2 separate regions of the Homo sapiens genome follow, and region 1 is linked to region 2. Evidence: promoter capture Hi-C in 16 types of primary human blood cells and fetal thymus (Javierre and others, 2016). All regions are on one chromosome and are shown on one strand. Each heading gives the region's core, a stretch centred on a gene start or on the middle of the fragment in contact. The rest is flanking DNA. Distances are from core to core; before and after follow the strand shown.

Region 1 (5,038 bases), core at 2,102-4,601, 380 kb before region 2:
CAAGGACCTCCTCCCCTGTAGCAGAGCCAGGCAGCTCTTCCCCAAATTGGCTTCCTCGTCCTTCTGGGCACAGCTGGGTGACATCTTCCAGTGTCTCCCGGAGTTACGTATGGCCATGTGACTCATTTCTGGCCCATGGAAAGTAGGCACAAGGGCTGTACCATCTCCAGATGTGCCCCATGCAGCAGGTTGAATCGTGTTCCCTCCAAAATTCATGTCCACCAGAGCCTCAGAAAGTGAGCTCACTTGGAATAAGGGCCTTTGCAGGTGTAATTAAGGTAAGGATCTTGAGATGACTTCCTGGATTCGGATGGGCCCTAAAGCCAATGACAGGTGTCCTTAGACAGCAAAGGAGAAGAAGACACAGAGAGACACAGGGGACAGGGCCTCGCTAAGACCAAGGCAGAGGCAAGAGCCAAGGCATGGCAAGGATGGCCAGCAGCCCCCAGGCGTGGAATGGGCTCCTCCTTAGAGCCTCCAGAAGGAATCAGCTTGGACTTCTGGCTTTCAGAACTGTGAGCGAGTACATTTTTTTTTTTTTTTTGAGACGGAGTCTCACTCTGTCACCCAGGCTGGAATGCAGTGGCACGATCTGGGCTCACTGCAAGCTCTGCCTCCTGGGTTCACGCCATTCTCCTGCCTCAGCCTCCCGAGTAGCCTACAGGCGCCTGCCACCACGCCCAGCTAATTTTTTCGTATTTTTAGTAGAGACAGGGTTTCACCATGTTAGCCAGGATGATCTGGATCTCCTGACCTCGTGATCCACCCGCCTCGGCCTCCCAAAGTGCTAGGATTACAGGAGTGAGCCACCGCGCCCGGCTGCGAGTACATTATTGTTATTTTAAGCCACCGAAGTGCTGTAGCGGCAGTTTGGTAAAGCAGCCCTAGCAACTGATAGGGGGCATAAAACTCTCCCTGCCGTCTCTCCTGCTCTTTCCCCTCTGGCCGGCTGGCACGGTAACAGTCTCTGGGGTGATGTTGGAAACCACAGGCAGAGGCTGGGGTTCCAGAGATGGAATGTGCGTGGATTCCCGAGTCACTGCTCGGAGGGAGCAGGAACACCTGCCCACAGGGCAAAAGCAACATTAACTACAGTACACAGGAAAAAAACAGGAAAAAAAAATTTCTGGATCATCTGTTACAGTGGCCAAATACCTTAACTAATATCCCCCATAACTAATATCCAGCAGAAAGTAATAAACTGTCATTCTCTATATCAGCATAGTATGGGGAAAAATTACGAACAAAAAATTAAATAAAAAGATAAGAAATTAAGTTTAAATTAAAAAAAAATTTTTAAATGTCATTCTGGCTTGGACAGCAGTCTTGTGGAATTTGTAATTTTAGTCTGTTGCTGAGAGACGGACCCTCTGTGAATACACGGAAAAAGTCCTCTGGTCAGAACTGGGAAGCTGAGAATAAGAGTCTTCCCCTCCAAAATGTATACAAAACTGGAGGTCAGGGGCCCTGCCGCACTCAGCCTGCATCTTGCGGGTATCCCCATTCATGGGCTGTCTCTCCCACTCCACCTAAATCTGGCCAGTCTGTACCAGCAGAGGCCTGCGGAGGGCAGGAGTGTGTGATAGGTGGGCTCAGGGGACGTGAAGACCTGTGCTAGGTGGAAACACCGTGTGGTGTGTCACTGAGAGACATCTTTGCCTCCAAAAGGAGACCTGTGCATGCTGTGGCGCAGGCTAGGAGGGCAGGGGGGAGGGGCAGGCCCTTTTCCAGAGAGAAAGCAGATGACAACAAGGCCAAGAAGGATGGGCGTCGAGCTAGAGCATCCGACCTGCAAGCAGGGCTGCACTGCCCAGCATTCCTGCCACCTCCACACGTGTCTCTGAGTGTGTAAGTGGCTCTTTTAGGGGAGCCTGCCGTTGTTACTGGATCTGTAAAGGCATTCTGGGACTCTCCACACCAGCTCTGAGCTCCTCGAAGGCAGGAATGTGATACCCCTGGCGTTTGTAGTTCACGGGAGGCAGCGTTGGTGGATGTGCTGGCCTAGGAGGCTATGGTCAGATCATGAAAATCTTCTGAATGCTGTGAGAGGTTTGGACCCCACTCTATGGGTAATGGGGTGGCTCTCAGGAGGAATCTTTAAATTCTGTATTTTACCCCTGAGAGGATATGAATTTATAATACCCCATTGTTCAGCACAAGAAGAGGCACTCAGGCAACTGACATGAGGAAATACTTGCCCTGTAGCAGCTGCTCACACTACGGTGTAGGACAAACCCAAAACTGGGGCAAGACAGCACAGCCAAAGGTGTGCACTTAACCAGGGACTTAATCTAAACACAACCAGCAAAGAAAAACTCAAAGCGATCCATCAGCCAAAACCAGAACACCAAGTGGTGGGGACGAACGGCAGAATTTCTGACCTCTTGGTTCAGCCAGGCCCCAGTAAAAACCAACAAAAGGGACAAATCAGGGGGAAAAAATCTGTATTTTAGACTGCTAATTCTGGAAGCATGGCCTGTACAGAGCAAGACCACCGTAAACATTTGTGTAGCTGAAAGCAAAAGTCAGTATTAATGCTCATCACATAACATGTTTCAGTTTCTATCCCTTAAACACACACACACACACACCACATACCCCAAAAGCATGGATATCCTGTGAATGGCTGGTTTCTCACTGTGAAAGGAAAATAAATCTTGGGGTCACTAAGCTAAAGGGAAAACTCATGCTGGGAACTGCTTAGGACCAACCTGCCTCCCATTCTATTCAAAGTCACCCCTCTCCTCGCTGACATAGATGCATATCTGATTGCATCCTTTGCAAAGGCTAATCAGAAACTCAGAAGAATGCAACCATTTTTCTCTCACCTATCTGTGACTTGGAAGCCCCGCCCCACCCCTTCAAGTCTTCCTGCCTTTGCTTCAAGTTGTCCTGCCCTTGTAGACCGAACCAATGTACTTCTTACATATATTGATTGATGTCTTATGTCTCCCTAAAATGTTTAAAACTAAGCTGTGCCCCGACCACCCTGGGCACATGTCATCAGGAATTTCTGAGGCTGGGTCAGGGACACATCCTCAACCTTGGCAAAATAAACTTCCTAAGTTAACTGAGATCTGTCTCAGATTTTCTGGGTTCACACTGTGGTTTCCCCAGGCTGCAGTCCGAGTGCAGTGCTCTGCTGCCTGAGAGCTGGCCAATGACAGAGGTCCCTGAAGGTGAGGGTTGGAAGTGCCACGTCTGATGTCAGAAAAAAGGCTGCTTCAGCGGGGTGCGGTGGCTCACGCCTGTAATCCTAGCACTTTTGGGAGGCTGAGGTGGGCAGATTGCTTGAGCTCAGGATTTCGAGACCAGCCTGAGCAACATGGCGAAACCCTGTCTCTACTAAAAATGCAAAAACTAGCTGGGCATGGTAGTGCACGCCTATAGTCCCAGCTACTCAGGAGGCTGAGGCAGGAGAATCACTTAAGCCCAGGAGGTGGAGGTTGCGGTGAGCCAAGATCATGCCACTGCACTCCAGCCTGGGTGACAGACTGAGACTCTGTCTCAAAAAAGGAAAAAAAAAAAAAGAAAAAAAGAAAAAAAAGGCTACTTCAGTCCCCCAGTAATGTCCCAGCATCCTCAGTTTCCTCCATGAGCGTAAGCACAGGCCTTTGAGCAGGGATGGCAGCCAGGACTCAGTCAGCAGGCAGCTCTGCCTAGCAGCTGATGTGGAGAAGATTTCAGGCCAGTGAGGTTTCCCTGGAATCCAGTTTTGGTTTTTCTTTCCATCCCTTATTCCCTTCTCTTCCTTCTCTTGTCTGGCCTGAGGAGCCAGTTCGTGGTTCTTTGCTATGGCAGCCCGAGCAAACAGATACAAACTCTTTCCAGGTGGCTCCAGGATGGGCCCTTTCCCTCGCCTGCCCTGCCATGGGCATTAATCATCAACAGGAGTTGTATGTGTACCATGGAGAGGAAGAAGACATTGCTAGACAAGAGAAGTAATAAGAGCAGAAACAGGCATTGACAGGATACTCTTGCAGTGGGGATGGGAGGTGGGAGTTAGGATAACAGTGCTAACTAACATTTATCGAGCACCTTCTATATACAGGCTAATTCCAATGCAGTATGTCTGCTCACCCCTGAAACAATTCTTTGGAGGTGAGTCTCAATATCACGTCCATTCTATCTACACCCGAGAGTAATGGCTTGGGAAAGTTAAACGTTATGTCCAAGACTAGATAAGTGGGGAAGCCCATGGGTTGAACCCAGGATCACAATGGTTTGTTTTCAACTTTCCAAGCACAGGAGAATAGAATTTGTGCTTTAAAGCTCACCCTGATCTTCCCTCGGGGGTTTAGCCTGGGGCTGGGTTGAGCATCCTAGGATCAGCCTGACCTGAAGTTGTTCTTGCCTGTTAACCTCCATCCCAGACATGGCCACTGGGCAGGTCCAGGGCTAAACCAGCCAAACCAGAGCAGAGGAGTCAAGGCCAGGGCCAAGTTCTTGCTCCAGTCCTCTTCTAGAGTGGCTGCTGGCCACTGCAGAGACCACCTAGGGTGCCTGTGCACTGGCCAAGAGATGCAGGGTGGTTTGGGCACAGCCATATTTACTCCCATTAAAAAGGATTTTCTACACAGCTGTTAAAGAAAGCCTGAAAACAGAACCAAACAATCCCCCAAAATGTTCAGATTCCAAAAAAAAGGCTGAAAGCCTCTTCACTCAAGCAACAGCCCAAGGAGAAGGAGCCAGCTTATAGCTCCAGCTTCAGCTCCTACCAACAGTCAGGGACTCAGCTGTCTTGCCTAACTCTGGAATCTTTATTATCAAATAGCACATGTGTCACTCCAAGAACCATGCCTATGAAGTCCTCTATGAGAACTCCCTTTTTTGCCCCTAAAGGGAAAGGTCCCAAATAGGTCAATCTTACACGTAGACAGGATCCTTGTGGCTGTTGAAATACAGGCATCGTCATTCTCGTAAACACTTCGACGTGGCATTCGCTCTGTGCCAGGCATTCCTATGCTTCCTGTGTGCTAGTTAATTCCAACCTTGTACTTCATCCTAACTTGCCCAAAGTCACTTAGCCAGTTGTTGT
Region 2 (5,524 bases), core at 2,785-5,284:
GTGTGTTTCAGGGCCTGGGCATATGAGTACACAGCACTTAACAGGTATGAAGGAAGATACAAAGCAGGACATGAAGAGGAGGGAGATGTGAGACTTTTCAGTATATCTGGAAAGTGATCTGCCCCTGGAAGTGGGTACATTTCTACAAGAAAAAAATAAAACTTCTTGCTGATGAAAATCATGATGATGATGAAGAGGAAGAACATTTTGATGAAGGGAAAACTGAAGAAAAAGCTCTAGTGATGAAATTTATACAGGATACTCCATCCAAAAAATGCACAAAGATCAAACCAAAATAAAAAAGACTCAGAACTATCAAGATTAAGACCAAAAGGTCAAGAATCCTTCAAAAACAGGGGGAAAAAACCTCTTAAAACACCAAAAGGACCTAGTTTTGTAGAATATATTAAAAGCAAAAATGCAAGCAAGTATAGAAAAAGTTGGTTCTCTTCCCAAAGCTAAGTGCATCAATTATGTGAAGAATTACTTCTGGATGACCAACTAGGAGGCTATTCACCATCTCTGGCAGTGGAAGAAGTCTCTTTAAGAACACAGTTTAGGCCAAGCGTGGTGGCTCATGCCTGTAACCCTAGCACTTTGGGAGGCCAAGGTGGGCAGATCACTTGAGGTCAGGAGTTCAAAACCAGCCTGGCCAACATGGTGAAACCTTGTCTCTCCAAAAATAAATAAATAAATAAATAAAAATACAAAAAATTTGCCAGGCGTGGTGGTGGATGCCTGTATTCCCAGCTACTTGGGAGGCTGAGACAGGAGAATCGCTTGAACCTGGGAGGCAGAGGTTGCAGTGAGCAGAGATCACGCCATTGCATTCCAGCATGGGCAACAGAGTGAGACTCTGTCTCAAAAAAAAAAAAAAATAGTTTAAACAGCTTGTTAAAATTTTCTTTCTTCTTTTTTTTTTTAAATCTTTTAACCCAATAGTTCTTTTAGAGAAAAAAATTACCTGTCATTTCGTTAATAGTTCTTTTAGAGAAAAAAATTATCTGTCATTTCATTTCTGTAACAGTTGATATCTAACTGTCCTTTTTACAATTCAGAGTGAGAAGTTCCCTAGCACGTTGGATAAATATTGTCCAGGTTCCATTGCCAAAAATGTGTTGTCCAAAATGCCCCTGTAGTTTTTAAAGATGAAACTCCATCGTTTGCTTGTTTTTTTTTTTGAGACAGAGTCTTGCTCTGTCACTCAGGCTGGAGGGCAGTGGCACTATCTTGGCTCACTGCAGCCTCTGGCTCCCAGGCTCAAGCAATTCTCCTGCCTCAGCCTCCCAAGCAGCTGGGATTACAGGCATGCACCACCACACCCAGCTAATTTTTGTATTTTTAGTAGAGATGGCATTTTGCCATGTTGGTCAGGAAGGTGTCAAACTCCTGGCCTCAAGTGATCTGCCCACCTCAGCCTCCCAAAGTGCTGGGATTACAGGTGTGAGCCACCACGCCTGGCTCTTTGCTTGGTTTTCAGTATATATGTATGTATGGAATATTATGATAGGACATAGTAGTAGCTGTGGTCAGACAAATGGAAATGGTGGGAAGACAAAAATATGTAACTGAAATAAGCTCAATATTTTAATAAAGGAAAAAATAAATTTTTTCCCCGGAAAAAGTTGTAAGAAAAAAATAAATCTTCTCCCATGCATCTTAGGAGTGCTTTAAACTTAGATGTTTGGAGATGAGTAGTCTTTAGATAGGTGGAAATGGAGGAAAAGGTGTGACATGCCCATGGCTACCTAGTATGCTTCTATGCATAGTACAGTTTTTAAAAAGTGAGTTGCTTCTCTGTAAAAACATATTACTTTACTATTAGAAACCACTGGAGAGCAATCATGCCCTGCTTATATTAAACATCTTTGCTAGATTTTTATTTGATTTTTTGAGATGGGGTCTTGCTCTGTTGCCCAGGCTGGAGTGTATGGTGCAATTTTAGCTCACTGCAGCCTCGAACTCCTGGGCTCAAGGGGTCCTCCCACCTCAGCCTCCCGAGTAGCTGGGACTATAGGCATGCACCACCATGCCCAGCTATGTTTCCTAAATTTTTAAGTGAGATACATTAAACCTCATAAAAATTAGAGCTAACATTTATTGAACACTCTGTTGTACTGCCTCCCAAGTATAACATGGTAATTAAAACACTGGAGGCCAGGCACGATGGCTCACCCCTGTAATCCCAGCACTTTGGGAGGGCCAAGTGGGCAGATCACTTGACCTCAGGACTTGGAGACCAGCTTGGCCAACATGAGGAAAACCCGTCTCTACTAAAAATACAAAAATTAGTTGGGTGTGATGGTGCACGCCTGTAGTCCCAGCTACTTAGGAGGGCAAGGCACAAGAATCGCTTGAACCCGGGAGGTGGAGTTTGCAGTGAGCTGAGATCGCACCACTGCTCTCCAACCTGGGCGACAGGGCGAGACTCCATCTCAAAAAAAACCCCAAAACTAAAAAAAAAACCCCAAATGTTGGAAAGTTGCGCGAGGTATAATTCAGTTTAGAAATTAAGAATCCAAGACAAAAAGTCTGCCTCAGGACCACACACAAGCACGAAGAAACCAAGATAGTTCAAGCATGGACCTTAAAACTGCACTGTCTAAGGCTGTTGTCACTGGTCTCATGTGGCTATTTAAATTTTAATTAAAGTGAAATAAATTTTAAAATTCAGTTACTAAGTCACACTAACCATATTTCAAGTGCTCAATGGCTCCATGTAGCTAGTGGGTACTGTACAGACAGCACAGGATAACATTTGCATCATGGCAGAAAGTTTTAGTGGACCTAACCAAAAAAAAAATGCCTTTAGGCTCATTTCGTGATGGCAGATAAAAGCCTCTGGAATTCTGATAAGTTTCTGAAGCCATGTTATAGAACTGGTTATTGTAATTGCATGAACTTCATCCAAAACTGGTGAAAGCGTCAGGTTGGGGATAGTCTGGTGGTTGTTACTTTCTGTCCAACCTAATACTGAGGCTCTGAGAAATTCTGTGGTGAATTTCTGTAGGGGGACACAGCAGAAAAGGCATAGTATAGGTCAGAAAACCTGGGTCCTATAATACATAGTAATAATGACGACCATTTACTGGTTGTTTCCTATGTACCAGGCACTGTGCTAACCACAGGCTTCATTTAATCCTCACAATACCTGTGTAAGGTATTATTACCACCACTTTGCATGTGAACAGGCTGAAATTCAGAGGAGTAAGGTCACACAACTAGTAAGTAGGAGAGCCTGGATTCAACACCTGGTATCTATTCCCTTGCGCTGAACAACTCCGTGCCCTCACTTTCTTCATCTGTAGATCTAAAAGGATTAAATTAGAACATCTCAAAATTTCTACTACTTCTAAAACTCTGTGTTCTAAATTAGGACATTACTATCTATCTCCCCAAGCTAATGAAATAAGCAGGGTTCCTGGGAGGAGCTTGTTACCTATTTTTCTCCAAAGGAGATGCTTTCCCCTGTCTATGCCTCTGTCCTAAAACCTTTGGTTTCCCACTATCTAATGTGGTTTCAACTATCTATGAGGCGCTTTCGTGGCAAGGAGTGATTCTCTCCAGTAGGCAATCCTAAGAACGAGCGCAGTGCTTGGCGCACAGTAAATGCTCCATGGACCATTTATGAAATTAAGTCTAAGTGGACTTCAGGAAAATGTGAATCTGCTAAAATGAACTACTAGCCAGTATACTAGGTAGAAAACCCAGCTGACGAAGAAAACCCCAAGTGGAGAAGCCCTTGTAGGGGGTTGGAGACAATTTCTGACCCGCAGAAACCTGCAGTGGCGCTGACGTTTACAAGTGGTGGACAAAACGCCACTTGCAACACTGGAAGAAGCGGAAAACCCCACCCACTCTGGAACAACAGCGATCAGCCCCGAATATAGGGTCCCCTTGCCGCCCCGTAGCCTCCTAGTCCCGCCCCTCTCCCAAGGCCCGGCAGTGGCAGCGGCTGCGGCTGCGCAGTGGCGCGGGCGTAGGCGGAGCAGCGCGCGCCGCGGTCAGCTGACTGCTGGGCTGGCACGTGACTTGTTCTGTGTTCGCTTGGGTAGAGGAAGCCGTGAGGCCGGAGCTTAGGTCGGGAAGGGATGGATCGCTGAGCCGATAGCGTCCGCTAGGCTGTCTGCCTCGGTACCTGTTACTGCTGCTACTTCCTCGTTTGACACCTTCCTGGGTCAGTGAGCGATGGCTCTCCCCGGATGGGGAGTCCTGGTCAGGCCGAAGCATGAGCTCCGGTCGCTGCCTGGGAGGGACGCGGGTGGGTGCGGGGGCAGAGACCGTGGCGTTGGAGCTGGAGCTGGCTGGGTGGCTGTGTCTGGTTTCTCGGCGCCAATTCACCGTCTTGGGCCTAGGTTCCGTCTCTAAGGAAGAGAAGGAGGGAAAAAGAGAAAGAGCTCTCGTGGGTAGTTAATGACAGGCAGAAAGGAGAGATACAGCGGTCTGGGATCTTTCTTCTTGGGTAGGAATGCACGCCGCCTGATTGATTGAGGGGAATGAAGTGATAGGTCCAGGTGAGGCTATGGAGTGGTGTGTGTGAGGTCACAGCTAGCGCAAGTGCCTTCACTGGGTGTGTGTTGGGGGGGGCGCGGGTGTCGGGGGTCGGGGGTGGTGGGATGACAGTTTAAAGGCCTAGGAGCCCCTAACTGCAGGCAAGGAACCCTCACAGAGTACACAAGGTCCCTCTAGGAATGAGAAAGAACAGGAATCCAGAGAACTCAACTATTTTTTAGTAGAATGGGGGAGGGTAGGCAAACAAAACAGAACAAAACAAAACAAACCCCTAGAAAAGAACTTGGTGAGAGTCACATAAGGCATATTGAATCACTTGAGAAACAGGAGTAAGGGGGAAGCTAGTATTCTTTTCAGAGGAAAATTCTGGTATGTTAGGGAAAAATCACATGCTTCAGTGCGAGCCCAGTACTTAGCGCCGCTCTGGGAATGGAACGGGTGGGATGTGAACAGTCTATCCTTAGGAGTTAGCACTAACGTTGGAGAGAAAAGTCTACACACAGGACACGTTAAAATACGATGCAGTTTATGTATACTTACCAAAAAGAGAATGCGAAGTGCTTTGAAAGTGTGGAGCAACGACACATGTGTAAACTGGCACTATGGGAAGATATTCTGGAGGAAAGAAAACTTGAGTCTTGGCAAGCCCTCAGGATTTGAACAGGTTGAGAGAAATGGGGATAATTTTACAGGCAGGGAAAGCCACAGGATTTGAAAGCCTGAAGATGGGGGTAGGGAATGCTTCTGGTGGAGTCAGAAGTAGCTTTTACAGTGGATTGCACTGCGGAGAAGTGGGAAAGAAAGTTGGGAGTCAGGTAACGAGGACTTTTGAATGGTAGTCGTTTACTTATTCATGCAAATAATGTGTACTGAATACATGCTGTATGCAGGTACAGTGCTGATGGTAGGGTTTAGAAAATTGTCTTTATAGAGCTTACAGGCAAGCAGAGGGGATGGATTTTAAAAATCAAGCAAGCGTGAAATGTGCTTTGAAGGAATAACAGTGGTATGA

The links. The method cuts DNA at HindIII sites, captures the fragments that hold promoters and counts their contacts. A CHiCAGO score of 5 or more calls a contact.
Region 1: a contact is called between a fragment that was not itself captured here and the fragment with the promoter of ATP6V1C1 in region 2, in 1 of 17 cell types (neutrophils). The highest score is 7.5, in neutrophils.

What each region holds. Positions count from the first base shown.
Region 1 is chr8:102,632,821-102,637,858 of GRCh38, forward strand. No RefSeq gene overlaps it. Among named protein-coding and RNA genes, the nearest start is that of KLF10, 20 kb to the right of the region's middle. RefSeq lists enhancers at 1,248-1,748, 1,749-2,249. The HindIII fragment of the contact is 7,166 bases long and covers 1-5,038 here.
Region 2 is chr8:103,017,049-103,022,572 of GRCh38, forward strand. ATP6V1C1 (ATPase H+ transporting V1 subunit C1) reads left to right here and starts at 4,035. Exons shown (of 13, transcript NM_001695.5): 1 at 4,035-4,177. It also overlaps the pseudogene NPM1P52. RefSeq lists an enhancer at 4,265-4,474. The HindIII fragment of the contact is 13,168 bases long and covers 1-5,524 here.